3 separate regions of the Homo sapiens genome follow, and all the other regions are linked to region 2. The links are contacts of gene promoters, found by promoter capture Hi-C in human tissues and cell types (Jung and others, 2019). All regions are on one chromosome and are shown on one strand. Each heading gives the region's core, a stretch centred on a gene start or on the middle of the fragment in contact. The rest is flanking DNA. Distances are from core to core; before and after follow the strand shown.

Region 1 (4,136 bases), core at 724-3,223, 220 kb before region 2:
ATATTTTTAGTAGAGACAAGGTTTCACCATATTGGCCAGGCTGGTCTCAAACTCCTGACCTTGTGATCCTCCGGCCTCAGCCTCCCAAAGTGCTGGGATTACAGGCGTGAGCCACCGTGCCCAGCCAAAAACCCCTTACTTTTGCAGACACAAGTAATAGGTAAATAACGAGATCTTTGCTGATTCTGTTTTTTCACATTTTGCCCCAGTTGGGGCTGAAGAAGACCCTGTTAAAAGCACCCGGCTCTACCAGCAATCTCGCAAGGAAGTCCTCCTCGGGGCCTGTTTGGAGCGGGGCATCCAGTGCGTGCACATCCCCAGCAGTGGGCAAAGGTGAGGCAGCCGGCATCATGCTTGGACCCACATCTGGCCAGGTGAGGCCTGGAGTGCTGCTCAGGCCTTGGAGACTGTTTCTGCAGAACCACTTAGGCTTGGCAGGACGTCCCGGAGGGCGTGCTGTGTGCGGTGGACCAGGCTGTGGACTGAGTTGCTGTACCTGCCCTCAGTGCCTCTGTCCCATGAGGAGGGCACACTCAGATGGGTGGCTTCAGTCTACGGGGTACACATGGCCAGAAAGCATGTATGATACCCCGTGCCTGAGAACATGGACACTGGAATCACCCTCATGTCCATGTCATGAGACACCAGTTTTAAAATAGGACTATTCCAGATAATGTAGGGCATATGGCCCCATAACTCCTGGGTGCCTGTTTAAATCCATGCTCCCACACCTGTTTGAGGTCAAGCCACATTTCAACCTTGCCAAGCCACAGCTGCCATCTAGTGGTAAGGGAAAGCCTTCGCCTTTCTGCTCTTCAGAGCGAAATCCTCTTCGAGGTGCATTGGCCATGTGGCGTCTCGGGGTCGTTCAGGGCAGCATGGTGTGGATTGTGTTCACAAAATGTAAAAAGTGGGCCGGGCGCAGGGGCTCACGCCTGTGATCCCAGCACTTTGGCAGGCCAAGATGGGTGGATCGCTTGACCCCTGGAGTTTGAGACCAGCCTGGCCAACATGGTGAAACCCTGTCTCTACTAAAAACACAAAAACTAGCCGGGCATGGTGGCGGGTGCCTGTAGTCCCAGCTACTCGGGAGACTGGGCCACGAGAATGGCTTGAACGCGGGAGGCAGAGGTTACCATGAGCCGAGATTGCATCACTGCACTCCGTCTCAAAAAAAAAAAAAAAAATGATAAGTGTGAACTCTCTAATCAGATTGATCTGATCTGGAATTCTGACTCTGCCATTCTGTGATTAAGAGAGGTTTGTGTCCTTATCTTTATAGACTGAGGTGATGACCTCCTGAGATCAAGCAATCCTCCCACCTCAGCCTCCTGAGTAGCTGGGACTACAGGCACATGCCACCACACCCGGCTAATTTTTGTGGGTTTTTTTTTTTTGAGATGGAGTCTCACTCTATTGCCAGGTTGGAGTGCAGTGGCGCAATCTTGGCTCACTACAACCTCTGCCTCCCGGGTTCGAGTGATTCTCCTGCCTCAGCCTCCCAAGTAGCTGGGACTACAGGCACCTGCCACCACGCCCGGCTAATTTTTGTATTTTTAGTAGTGACGGGGTTTCACCATGTTGGCTAGGATGGTCTCGATCTCTTGACCTCGTGATCCGCCCGCCTTGGCCTCCCAAAGTGCTAGGATTACAGGCACGAGCCACTGCGCCTGGCCCACATTTTTGTGTTTTTTGTAGAGAGGATGGTCTCACTATATTAGCCAGGCTGGTCTCGAACTCCTGGCCTTGAGTGATCTCTTGCCTTGGCCTCCCAAAGTGTTTGGATTACAGGCGTGAGCCACCACTCCTGGGCTAAAGTTTTTCTTTAAGAATCCTTTACCAGATCGTCTGCGTATATTGGTAGCTCAGTATGTATTACCCTAGTTTATCTGGTCTTCTATTTTAAATAGTGCTTATGGTTAATATGACGCAGCCTCCTTGTAATTTTAAAGGAATCAACCAGTAACAATTGCGTCTTTTTTCCTTGTTCCCTGCCCACCTCTGTGACCAGACAGGTGAGACATGTGACTAGACTATCCCCTTCCATCTGCTCAACTAATGTAGATTTCTCCTGCCAACATAATCAACGAAGATAGGAGAGCTTGAATTTATGCATGCTTATGTACATGTTAGTAATTATTTTGAGAATAAGTACCTTAGAATACACTCAGCTAAGCTAAAAGCTGCCTGAGCCATCCTGTGTTTGATGATGTTGCCTGAAGGGCTTATAGAATATTGTTAATGTGTCTTATGTTTAAGGTAGATATGCTAAAGACAGCATAACTTCTGTGTGTTTGTTAAATAGCTTCATACTTTTATAATAATGTGATTTTTGTGTGTATACCTTCTAGCTAAATCAAGTGAATTTGCAAGTATTCCTGCAAATAGCTCCCGGCCTCTGTCAAACATCAGCAAGTCAGGCAGAATGGGACCCGCCATGCTGCGGCCAGCTCTGCCTGCAGGCCCTGTGGGGGCATCCTCCTGGCAGGCCAAGCGGGTCGATGTTTCTGAGCTGGCAGCGGAGCAGCTCACGGCACCCCCCTCAGCATCCCCCACCCAACCCCAGACTCCGGAAGGTGGCGGCCAGTGGCTGAACTCCAGTTGCGCTTGGTCAGAATCTTCTCAATTGAATAAGACTAGAAGTATCAGACGGCGAGATTCCTGTCTAAATTCCAAGACAAAGGTTATGCCTACTCCTACAAATCAATTTAAAATTCCTAAGTTTTCTATTGGTGAGTAATAGATACATTTTAATGTGTCTTTAAAAAATACTGAAGAAATTGCATTTAAAGTTTTAAACAATTATTGATGGCATTGATGGTGTTTTTAGTTCTTTCCTCCAACAGTGCTTTCAGGTGTGACCCGCTGTCTTCTCGCCCACGTTGTTTTGGGGGGTCACTGGAGGCTCCCTGAATGTCTTACGTTCGTTCCTGTGTGTGTGACACCCCAATGCTCGTAGGCTGCTTGTAAGGTTTTCTCTTTAGTGTTACTGTCGGGAATTTGATTATTATGTGCTTTGAGGTGGCTTTCTTTGCCTTTATCCCGCTGAGGGTTTCTTAAGCTTCTTTGATCTGTGGGTTGGTTTTTTTCAGCAAATTTGGAAAACGTTGGCCATTATTTCTTCAGCTATCTTTTCCTCTTTCCACTTTATTTCCTAGGACTCTAATCACATCTATTTCAGGCCTCTTGACGTTGTCTCACAGGACACCGAAGCTCTGTTCTTTTTTTTATTTCAGCCTTTTTTCTTTTTCTTATCTTTTTTCTTTTCTTTCTTTCTTTTTTTTTGTTTTTTGTTTTTTGAGACGGAGTCTCGCTCTGTCACCCAGGGTGGAATGCAGTGGCGCGATCTCAGCGCACTGTAACCTCCACCTACCGAGTTCAAGCAATTCTCCTGCCTCAGCCTCCCGAGTAGCTGGGATTACAGGTGCCCACCACCACACCCGGCTAATTTTTTTTTTGTATTTTTGGTAGAGACGGGGTTTCGCCATGTTGGCCAGGCTGGTCTGGAACTCCTGACCTCAAGTGACCCACCCATCTCGGCCTCTCAAACTGCTGGGATTATAGGTGTGAGCCACCGTGCCCGGCCCAGCCTTTTTCCTTGAGCTACAGTTTGGGTAGTTTCTGTTGTCAGATATCATTTCTTCTGCAGTGCCTAACAGCTGTGAAGCCCATCCAGTTAACTTTGTTTCTAACATAATAGTTTCCCCTTATTTCTTCTCATGGTACTTGGGTTTTCTTTTACATCCTCGTGAGCAAATTGATAATGGTTTTAGGGTCTACGATTCTTCTCATACCATCTTCCCCATCATTTTGGGGTCTGTTTCGACTGACTAATTTTGTTTCCGGGTTTTGGCCTCATTTTCCTGCCTCTACATTTTTCACAAGTTTTTCTTGGTTGTTGGATATTGTCAGGTGTACACTTTTGAATGTCTGGATTTTGTTGTCTTTCTCTGAGGAGTTGGGTTGGGCTTGGCAGGCAGTTAAGGTGCAGATCATCCTTCCGAGGCTTTTTATGCTTTGAAGTGGTGGGTCTAGCATAGCCTTTCCGCCTCCCGCCACCGGCGTCCTTCCCAAGGCCTCTGCTGCACACCCGTGTGTCCCGCAAGGCCCGCGAGACCCCTGCACTCCTGCTGCTG
Region 2 (3,561 bases), core at 221-2,720:
CAGTGATGTAGGTGGTGGCCGAGCGCGGCGGCGTACTGTAGTCCACGGCTTTCACCCTGAGGACGTGCGTCTCCTTGGTCTCGCGGTCCAGTACGCTGTCCGTGCTCACGGCGCCCGTGGCAGAGTCGATTCGGAAGTAGCCCCGGGAGCGCTCGTCGAACAGCCCCTCCATGTAATAGCTCACGCGCTCCTCCTCGCCCTCGATGGTGTAGTGCGCGTGCAGCTGGAGGATGAGGGTGCCCGCCGGTTCGTTCTCAAACAACGCCACCTGGTAGTTGGGCATCGGAAACTTCAGGCTCCCTCTGCCGCTCGTGCCCCGCCGGGCCCGTCGCGCCGGCCCCGCCCGGGCTTCGGGCAAGTTCGGCGGCAGGGGCGGCGATGGGGATGGCGACGCGGAGGGCGTCCCCGCGGTGGCGGCCTCCAGCGCCAGTCCCACCCGGACGGCGCCAGCCGCGCGCCGCAGGGCGCACAGCAGACGCAGGCGGACCGAGCCGCCCGGCGGCAGGCAGATGGGACGGCCGGGACAGCGGGGCCTGGGGCGCGGCGGGCAGCGGCAGGCGGGTAAGGTGGTCGGAGCTGCGAGCGCCGAATGCTGCGCGGCCGCGCAGCCGCCGGGGACGGGGAAGCAGAGCGCCCCGCAGAGCCGGGCACCGGTTCCGCAGAGCCGGGCACGGGCTCCGCAGCCGGGAAGGTGCGTGCGCGCCCGCAGGCGGCGGCTCAGCGCCGTCGGGGCACTGCGGGCCACCAAGCGGACTTGCAGCGGCAGCGGGCGCCCCGCGCCCGAGACGCGCCGACGTCCTGCCAGCCGCCCATCGCGGCCCACGTCCAGCAGCTCCCGCGGCGCCCGGGGCGTGCAAGCGGCGCCCACCGCGTAGGTACAGCCGGGCCGGAGGGCGAAGGCGCGGGTCCCGCCGGGTACGCGCGGCTCCCAGGCGGCCGCTCGCAGCCCCATCGCCGGCAGGGCGGCGGCGGCGGCCAGGAGCAGCAGCACGGGCAGCACGGGCGGCGGCGGCGGCGCCATGGCCCGGAGCCCGAGCCCGAGCCGGGCGCCCGAACACAATCCATGCACCCGGCGCGCCTCCGCATCCACCCGGCGAGGCCGGGGAGCGGCTCCCGGGCGCCCGGCCCTCGGGGCGGTCCGCGTCCCGCCTCCCCGGGGGCCCTGGCGGGGACTGTGGGGACCACGCGCCCGGCCTCCCCCGCAGCTTCCACTTCGAGAGCACTTTGCGAAAGTTTGCGAAGTTGGTTTCAAGATGGCTCCTCCGCGCGTCCCGGGAGGGCGCCGCGCATCAACCTGCGGCGGCGGCGGCGGCTCCAGGCGGCTCCAGGTGGCTCCGGCGCGGGCTCGGCCGGACGGGCGTGGGAAGCGGGGCGGGCCCGGCGCGGGGCGGGGGCTGAGTTCCCGGAGCGGGCTGGGCAGCTCCGCGCCGCGCAGACCCCGGCGGCCGGCTGCTGCCTGGGCGGTGCGCTTGGCCCGCGCCCACTCCGCCCGCGCTCTCCCCGCCCCCGGCCCGGCCCCGCCCCGCCCCCGGCCCAGCGGCGTATTGTTCGGCCCCGGGGGGAGCCGGCTCGGAGGTGCGCGCCGAGAGGATCGCTATGGAGACGCGAGGGCGCGGCCGGGACGGGGACTGGGGCCCTACTCCCCGGAGGCCTCCCCACCCAGCCTCCCGGTGGGGCGGGGCCGAGGCAACAGGGCCGGGAAAGGTGGGGCTGGGGCCCCCGGTGGCCGCTACCCGTGGGGCGGTGGCTCCGCACCTCGGGCTCGGGGCCGCGGCTCAGAGCCTGGCTCCCCACCCCGGCAGAACAGATCCACGGAGACCGCCGCCAGGAGTGCCGCGCGGGTAGGACCCGGGGGCGGAGGACTGGGGCCGAGAGGCCGGGGAGCCCCCCCCCACCCATTAAGGACTGCGGAGGCTGTCGAGGAGGGTTACCCATTTTACAGCAAGACGCACGGAGGCTAAAATGCTTCACCCCGACTAAAACTCCCTGGACTTTGAAGCCCAATAGGCAGCTACCGGATCTGCGTCCCACTTGGTTTAAAGCGCAACTTTTAAATGAAAGAAGAAAACCCCGGTTGACATAAGGGATTTGGAGAGGACGGCGGAGGCGCGCTCATCTCCCGCGTGCGGCCCGACCCGAGCGTTCGCGGACGCATCGCGGAATCCCCGAGCGTCCGGCTCCTCCCGAAGCGGGTTGCGGGGAAGGCGGGGGGCTGCGGGTCCTGGAAGCTGCCTGGGGCAAGCAAGCACCCGCAGGGATTTAGAGCTGTGCCACAGCCCCTGCCCAGCCTCCTACGGAGGACAGCGGGGGGCGGGGGGCAGAGACCTTAGAGCTTTCAGAAAAGTGACACACACCCCCGCCTCCTGCGGGGAACCACGGGGGGCCGGGGGCAGCTTTAGGTTTGCGTGACGGGTACACCTGCCTCCGGATGGGGCACAGGGATAAAGGGGGTGGAGGCTTAGGACTTGGCGACCCCCCGCATGGGCGGGGCTTTGGGACTGTGCCACCAGCGGCTGGGAAGGGCGCGCACTCCCTTGGTGGCGCTCGGGGCGCCGGAGTCCAGTGCAGCCCTTAGGCCTCCCAGTGGTCGGGGACGGTAGGTGGGGGTCGCCTCTTCTCTCCTAGAAGGGCTTCTCCTGGGGCCGGTCGGAGCGGTGGGGGTGGGAGTAATGCGCAGTCACCCCTAGAACGGGTCTTTTTGGCAAGGGAGGGTCGGATCCTGCAGCCAAATCTCTGAGCTGAGCTGAGATGAGTCCAGTCTCAACGAGGACCGTGGGCGGCTGTGGAGAACCGGAAGGGTTTCTCCCCCGGAGCGATGTGTCTGTGTGTGTGTCACACGCATACTCAGCCAACTTCGCTCAAAGCTGCTGAAACAGTGTCTTTGTGCTGAAGCCCAATGTGAGCATTTTCTTCCCAGTAGCAAGGATTTGAACACGTTATATTGATCTAAAAGGTGGAGTTGCTTTGGAACCTTTTAATTCGAGGTTTCCACTGGAGAGTCCTGTTGGGAAATGTGTGTGTGGAGGGAGGGGAGGAAGGAGAAAAGTCCGTCTCCTTAATGTGAGCGGTCCAGGACCTCCCCACCCGCCATATACCCTTCCACTGGGATTTTTCCGGGAAGGATGAAAGGACAGGAGTTCTGGGGCCGGAAGGCAGGGCGGGTCCCTGAGCCCGGAGCCTCCCAGTGGAAGGCTACTGGGCGGACCTGAAGGGGACCCAGGCAGGAGGAAAAACCAGAGAACCCCAGGAGTGCCTGTTTTGCAATAAGGCTTTAAGCAGAGTGGGTTGGGTTTAAATAAACAAAACTCAGCTGCAGCCAGTGGGTTCAGGTGTGGGCCTGCTTTTCTGGAATAAGGCACCTGCAGGCTGCGAGGTAACCACAGGGACTGCCCAACACCTAGGGACAGGGGAGGATGGATGAATCTCACTAACAGGATGTCCAGCAAAGACAAAAGATCATTCCATTCACGCTTAGACCGACAGCAAGCCCGACTCCACCATAACGTTTAGAGGTGTGCACAAATAGGGGAAAGATGAAGAAAAACAAGGAGGTGATTATGG
Region 3 (4,067 bases), core at 233-2,732, 250 kb after region 2:
TTGAGCAAATCTGGAGGCTGTTGAAAGTGGTTGGAGCTGAGCAGTGGCACGTGGCATGGTGGTCACAGGGCTGTTCCTTCACTTTTCTGTGTGTTTCATTCCTTTGGTAAAAGTATCCAGCACCAGCCCCACTGGGACCCGCCTGTGGTTCATGCCACAGGGCGTCTGTGTCCTCAGCACCCAGGACAGTGCCTGCCTCGTAGGTCCTTCCTGGTTGAGAGGAGGGATCAGCGCTTTGCTTTCAGGTCATCTTCAGTTTGAAACTGAAACTCACTCTGATGTATGCAGAAATAAATGTGATGTTTTCATCTGGATGCTGACTTTAGAATTTTCTTCTGAAATCATATATTTCTCCTTATTGGCTTTTTTTTGGGAAGGAGAAGTCATAACAAACCCTTCAAGGGGCCAGACTCTTTTGAATTCCTTTCTCTTCTCTGGGTTTCCAATCTTCCTCTGTGGAGTGAGGGGTGGGACTGGGCTCCTGGGCCTTTGAAGGAAGGCCGGGTGTGGGCTCATGTTTCTGCTTGCTGTGGTGACAGGCCCTTGGCTGCCACTTTGATGTCCCACTGATTCCACTGCTCCTGGCCTTCAGATCAGGTACGTGCTGTTTTGTTTGTCTCAACCTTCTGCCAGCCACTTTTCCTAGTTCTAAGTGTGATTTTTTTTCTTAAGGAATCTTCCTTCTTTTCTTTTTTTTTTTTTTTTGAGACAGAGTCTCGCTGTCGCCTAGGCTGGAGTGCAGTGGCGCAATCTCGGCTCACTACAAGCTCTGCCTCCTGGGTTCACGCCATTCTCCTGCCTCAGCTTCCCAAGTAGCTGGGATTACAGGCACGTGCCACCAAGCCCGGCTAATTTTTTGTATTTTTCATAGAGACGGGGTTTCACTGTGTTATCCAGGATGGTCTCGATCTCCTGACCTCGTGATCCGCCCGCCTCGGCCTCCCGATAAGACTGGGTTTCTGTGCTCCTGTGACATGCTCTTGTAGGAATCATCATAGAACAGTCAAAATGCCAGTTGAAGTTTTGCTTTTGTGAGTAAACTGTAAGGGCCGGAATAGTTTGGATGTGTTGTGCTTACCTTTGCCTCCCCAGTGCCCTGTCCGAGAGTCAGTATCAAAAAAATGTTTGTCAAGTTTTGCTGAAAAATCTTAGAATATAAAAGTGAACATTTGGTATAATTAATATGTTGTGCTGCAGGCATAGGAATGGGATACTGAATAGAAACTGAGTGGGAAACTGAAAAATGACCCAATGTAATATTTTAACGTTAAAGATGATGTTCTCAAAGCAGTGGGTGAAAGGAGAGGTTACTGAATAAATGACATTTGAACCCTTCTTTATTTTTTTTTAAAGTTTCCTACTAAACACTATATAGCAAAATAAAATAAATTCTAGGTGGATTGAAAACTTAAGGGTAGGAACGAGCCCTCTAGAAGGATTGAACTAGCACACGGCAATGTTTATGCACTCTCAGAAGGGTCAGGCCTTTCCAAGTGTCGTCCCCAAAGTGGAGTCACGAGGAAAGGACACAAGAGTGGCTCAGCCTCCCAGACCAAGGAAAACAGATTGGCCACCGCCATTGTCTTTCTGTGACTGCTCTAGCAAATCATCACAAACTTACTGGCTTACAGCAAACATGGTATCCTAGAGTTCTAGAATTTGCAAGTCTGATGTGGGTCTCGCTGGGCTAACACCAAGGTGTTGGCGGGGCTGGTTCCTTCTGGAAGCTCCAGGGGAGAGCGTTTTCCCTGCTCTCTCCAGCTCCAGGAAGCCGCCCACGTTCCTTGGCATACAGCCCCCTTTCTCCACGTACAGAGTCAGCCATGTTGCATTTGTGTGACCTTCCGCGGTCTCTTCTGCTCTGACCACAGCCAGGAAGGTTCTCTGCTTTTGAGTACTCATGATTAGATTGTGCCCATCCGGATTGCCCAGGATGGTCTCCCACCTCATTCGTATTCTTAATTGCATCTGCAAAGTCCCCTTTGCCATGTAAGGTGACGTAGTCACAGGTTCTGGGCATTAGGATGTGGACGTCTTGGGTGGGGGCCGTTATTCTGCTGACCACACCACCAGAACGACTAAGAAGGAATCCTCTGTTTACAAGGTTTTTTTTTACAAAGCAGTGAGAAAGTGGTGAGCACCTCATTAGAAAATGGACAAAGGGTATGAGCAGACAATTTACAAAAAGAAGAGGTACAAATGAACAAAATAAAAAAAAAAAGTTTTACCTTACTAATGAATGAAGAGGCACATAGCCGACACGGAGACCACTGTTCTCTTGTTGAATGAGCAGTGGTGTGTGGTGTTGACACTGCTGGTGGGATATGAACCACGGCTCTTCAGCAGTGTGGACCAGTGGCCTTTTTAATGTGTGCTTTATGTCCCAAGCTTTCCATTTCTAGGAGTTTATCCCCAAGAGGTTATCATAGTTGTGTGCAAATATTTGTCTCCAAATATCTTTATTACTTTTTTTGTAATCACTATATTATTTTATTTTTTAGAGACAGGGTCTTACTCTGTAACCCAGATTGGAGTGCAGTGGTGCATTCTTGGCTCACTGCAACCTCCACCTCCCAGGCTCAAGCGATCATCCGGCCATTTTTTTGTAATCACTTATTTTATTTTTTTGAGACAGGGTCTCACTGTGTAACCCAGGTTGGAGTTCAGTGGTGCAATCTTGGCTCACTGCAACCTCAGCCTCCCAAGTAGCTGGGACCACAGGCTTATGTCACCACGCCCAGCCAATTTTTTTGTATTTTTTTGTGCAGACGTGGTTTCGCCATGTTGCCCAGGCTGGTCCTAAACTCCTGAGCTCAAGCGATCCGCCCACCTCGGCCTCCCAACATTGCCAGTATTGCCTTCAACAAACAGAGATTCGTTTATTTCCTGTGTCTGGTAGTCTGTGGTGAGCAGCGCAGGGTTGGGCAGCAGCTCAAAGCTGTCACAGCCCCATGCTGTTTCCTGCCTGTCTGCCCTGCTGCCCTTCATGGTGGCATCTTCACTCACGCACGATGGCTGAGGCCTCACCTCTGTGTTCCAGGTGGAAAAAAGGGAAAGAAGCTGGGGGCCAAAGGGGTGCTAGCTAAGCCTGTTTTTTTTTTTTTTTTTCCAGAAAAGTAAAAACCAGCATTTATTTCTTGCCGGCTATGAAAAATAAATGTGTGTCACAGGGCCAGCCGTGGCTGACGTCAGCCAAAGGAGCAAAGGCTTCTGGGTAGAGGTTGATGAGTCAACCAACAGTGTCTGCCACGTGGGGTATTTCATTTCCATCAGTTTTCCAAATTTACTCTGATGCATGTAAGACTTTTATAGTAAAACTGTTAAGTCTTTTTCTTTTTGAGATGGAGTCTTGCTCTGTCACCCAGGCTGCAGTGCAGTGGCACGATCTCGGCTGACTGCAACCTCCGCCTCCAGGGTTCAAGCCATTCTTCTGCCTCAGCCTTCCCGGTAGCTAGGATTACAGGCATGTACCACCATGCCCAGCTAATTTTTGTATTTTTAGTAGAGACAGGGTTTCACCATGTTTGCCAGGCTGGTCTCCAACTCCTGACTTCAGGTGATCCGCCCGCCTTGGCCTCCCAAAGTGCTGGGATTACAGGCGTGAGCTACCGTGCCAAGCCTGTTCAATCTTTTAAAAAATTATATTTATCTTTTGCAATTCTGCATTCAATTTCAGACAAAATGATGGCAGGTGAGAATTCCCAGGTGGGCGTTTCTTCGAGTTTTTAGTCTGTGGGCAGAGGCCTCAGTTCCTTCATTGCACTCCCAGACACCCTCATCACCGTGTAGATGCCCGAGGGTCTGTGGTGGTGCTTGTCGGGCTGAGGTCCATTCTCAGGGATGGGCTGAATGCCCTGCTTGTGTGGGGTGTGGGGTGTGGGCTTGTATGGTGCCACTCATCCCTTCTGAACTGGGCCCTCAGGACCCCGGGTGGCTGCAGGGGGGCCTGCGACAGCCCATGAGGAGCTGCTTCCTTCAGTCCTGTGGGTTCCTGGGAGCCCACCTTTCGGCTGAGCTGGTGGAGGGCTCTTGGGAAGGCAGGAGAGAGGCTCACTGGTTTTCCTTTT

The links. Contacts are between HindIII fragments. The study calls those that stand out against the background at their distance.
Region 1: a fragment that was not itself captured here is called in contact with the fragment with the promoter of CELSR1 in region 2 in 3 of the 25 tissues and cell types used here (liver, mesendoderm cells and stomach).
Region 3: a fragment that was not itself captured here is called in contact with the fragment with the promoter of CELSR1 in region 2 in 2 of the 25 tissues and cell types used here (small bowel and spleen).

What each region holds. Positions count from the first base shown.
Region 1 is chr22:46,313,681-46,317,816 of GRCh38, forward strand. GTSE1 (G2 and S-phase expressed 1) reads left to right here. Exons shown (of 12, transcript NM_016426.7): 6 at 210-333; 7 at 2,352-2,732. Among named protein-coding and RNA genes, the nearest start is that of GTSE1, 19 kb to the left of the region's middle. The HindIII fragment of the contact is 7,099 bases long and covers 1-4,136 here.
Region 2 is chr22:46,536,150-46,539,710 of GRCh38, forward strand. It overlaps CELSR1 (cadherin EGF LAG seven-pass G-type receptor 1), which reads right to left and starts at 1,471. Exons shown (of 35, transcript NM_001378328.1): 1 at 1-1,471. The coding sequence starts at 1,021. The HindIII fragment of the contact is 25,460 bases long and covers 1-3,561 here.
Region 3 is chr22:46,788,441-46,792,507 of GRCh38, forward strand. The region is part of intron 1 of TBC1D22A (TBC1 domain family member 22A); the gene reads left to right. Among named protein-coding and RNA genes, the nearest start is that of TBC1D22A, 28 kb to the left of the region's middle. RefSeq lists enhancers at 1-41, 3,051-3,160. The HindIII fragment of the contact is 6,608 bases long and covers 1-4,067 here.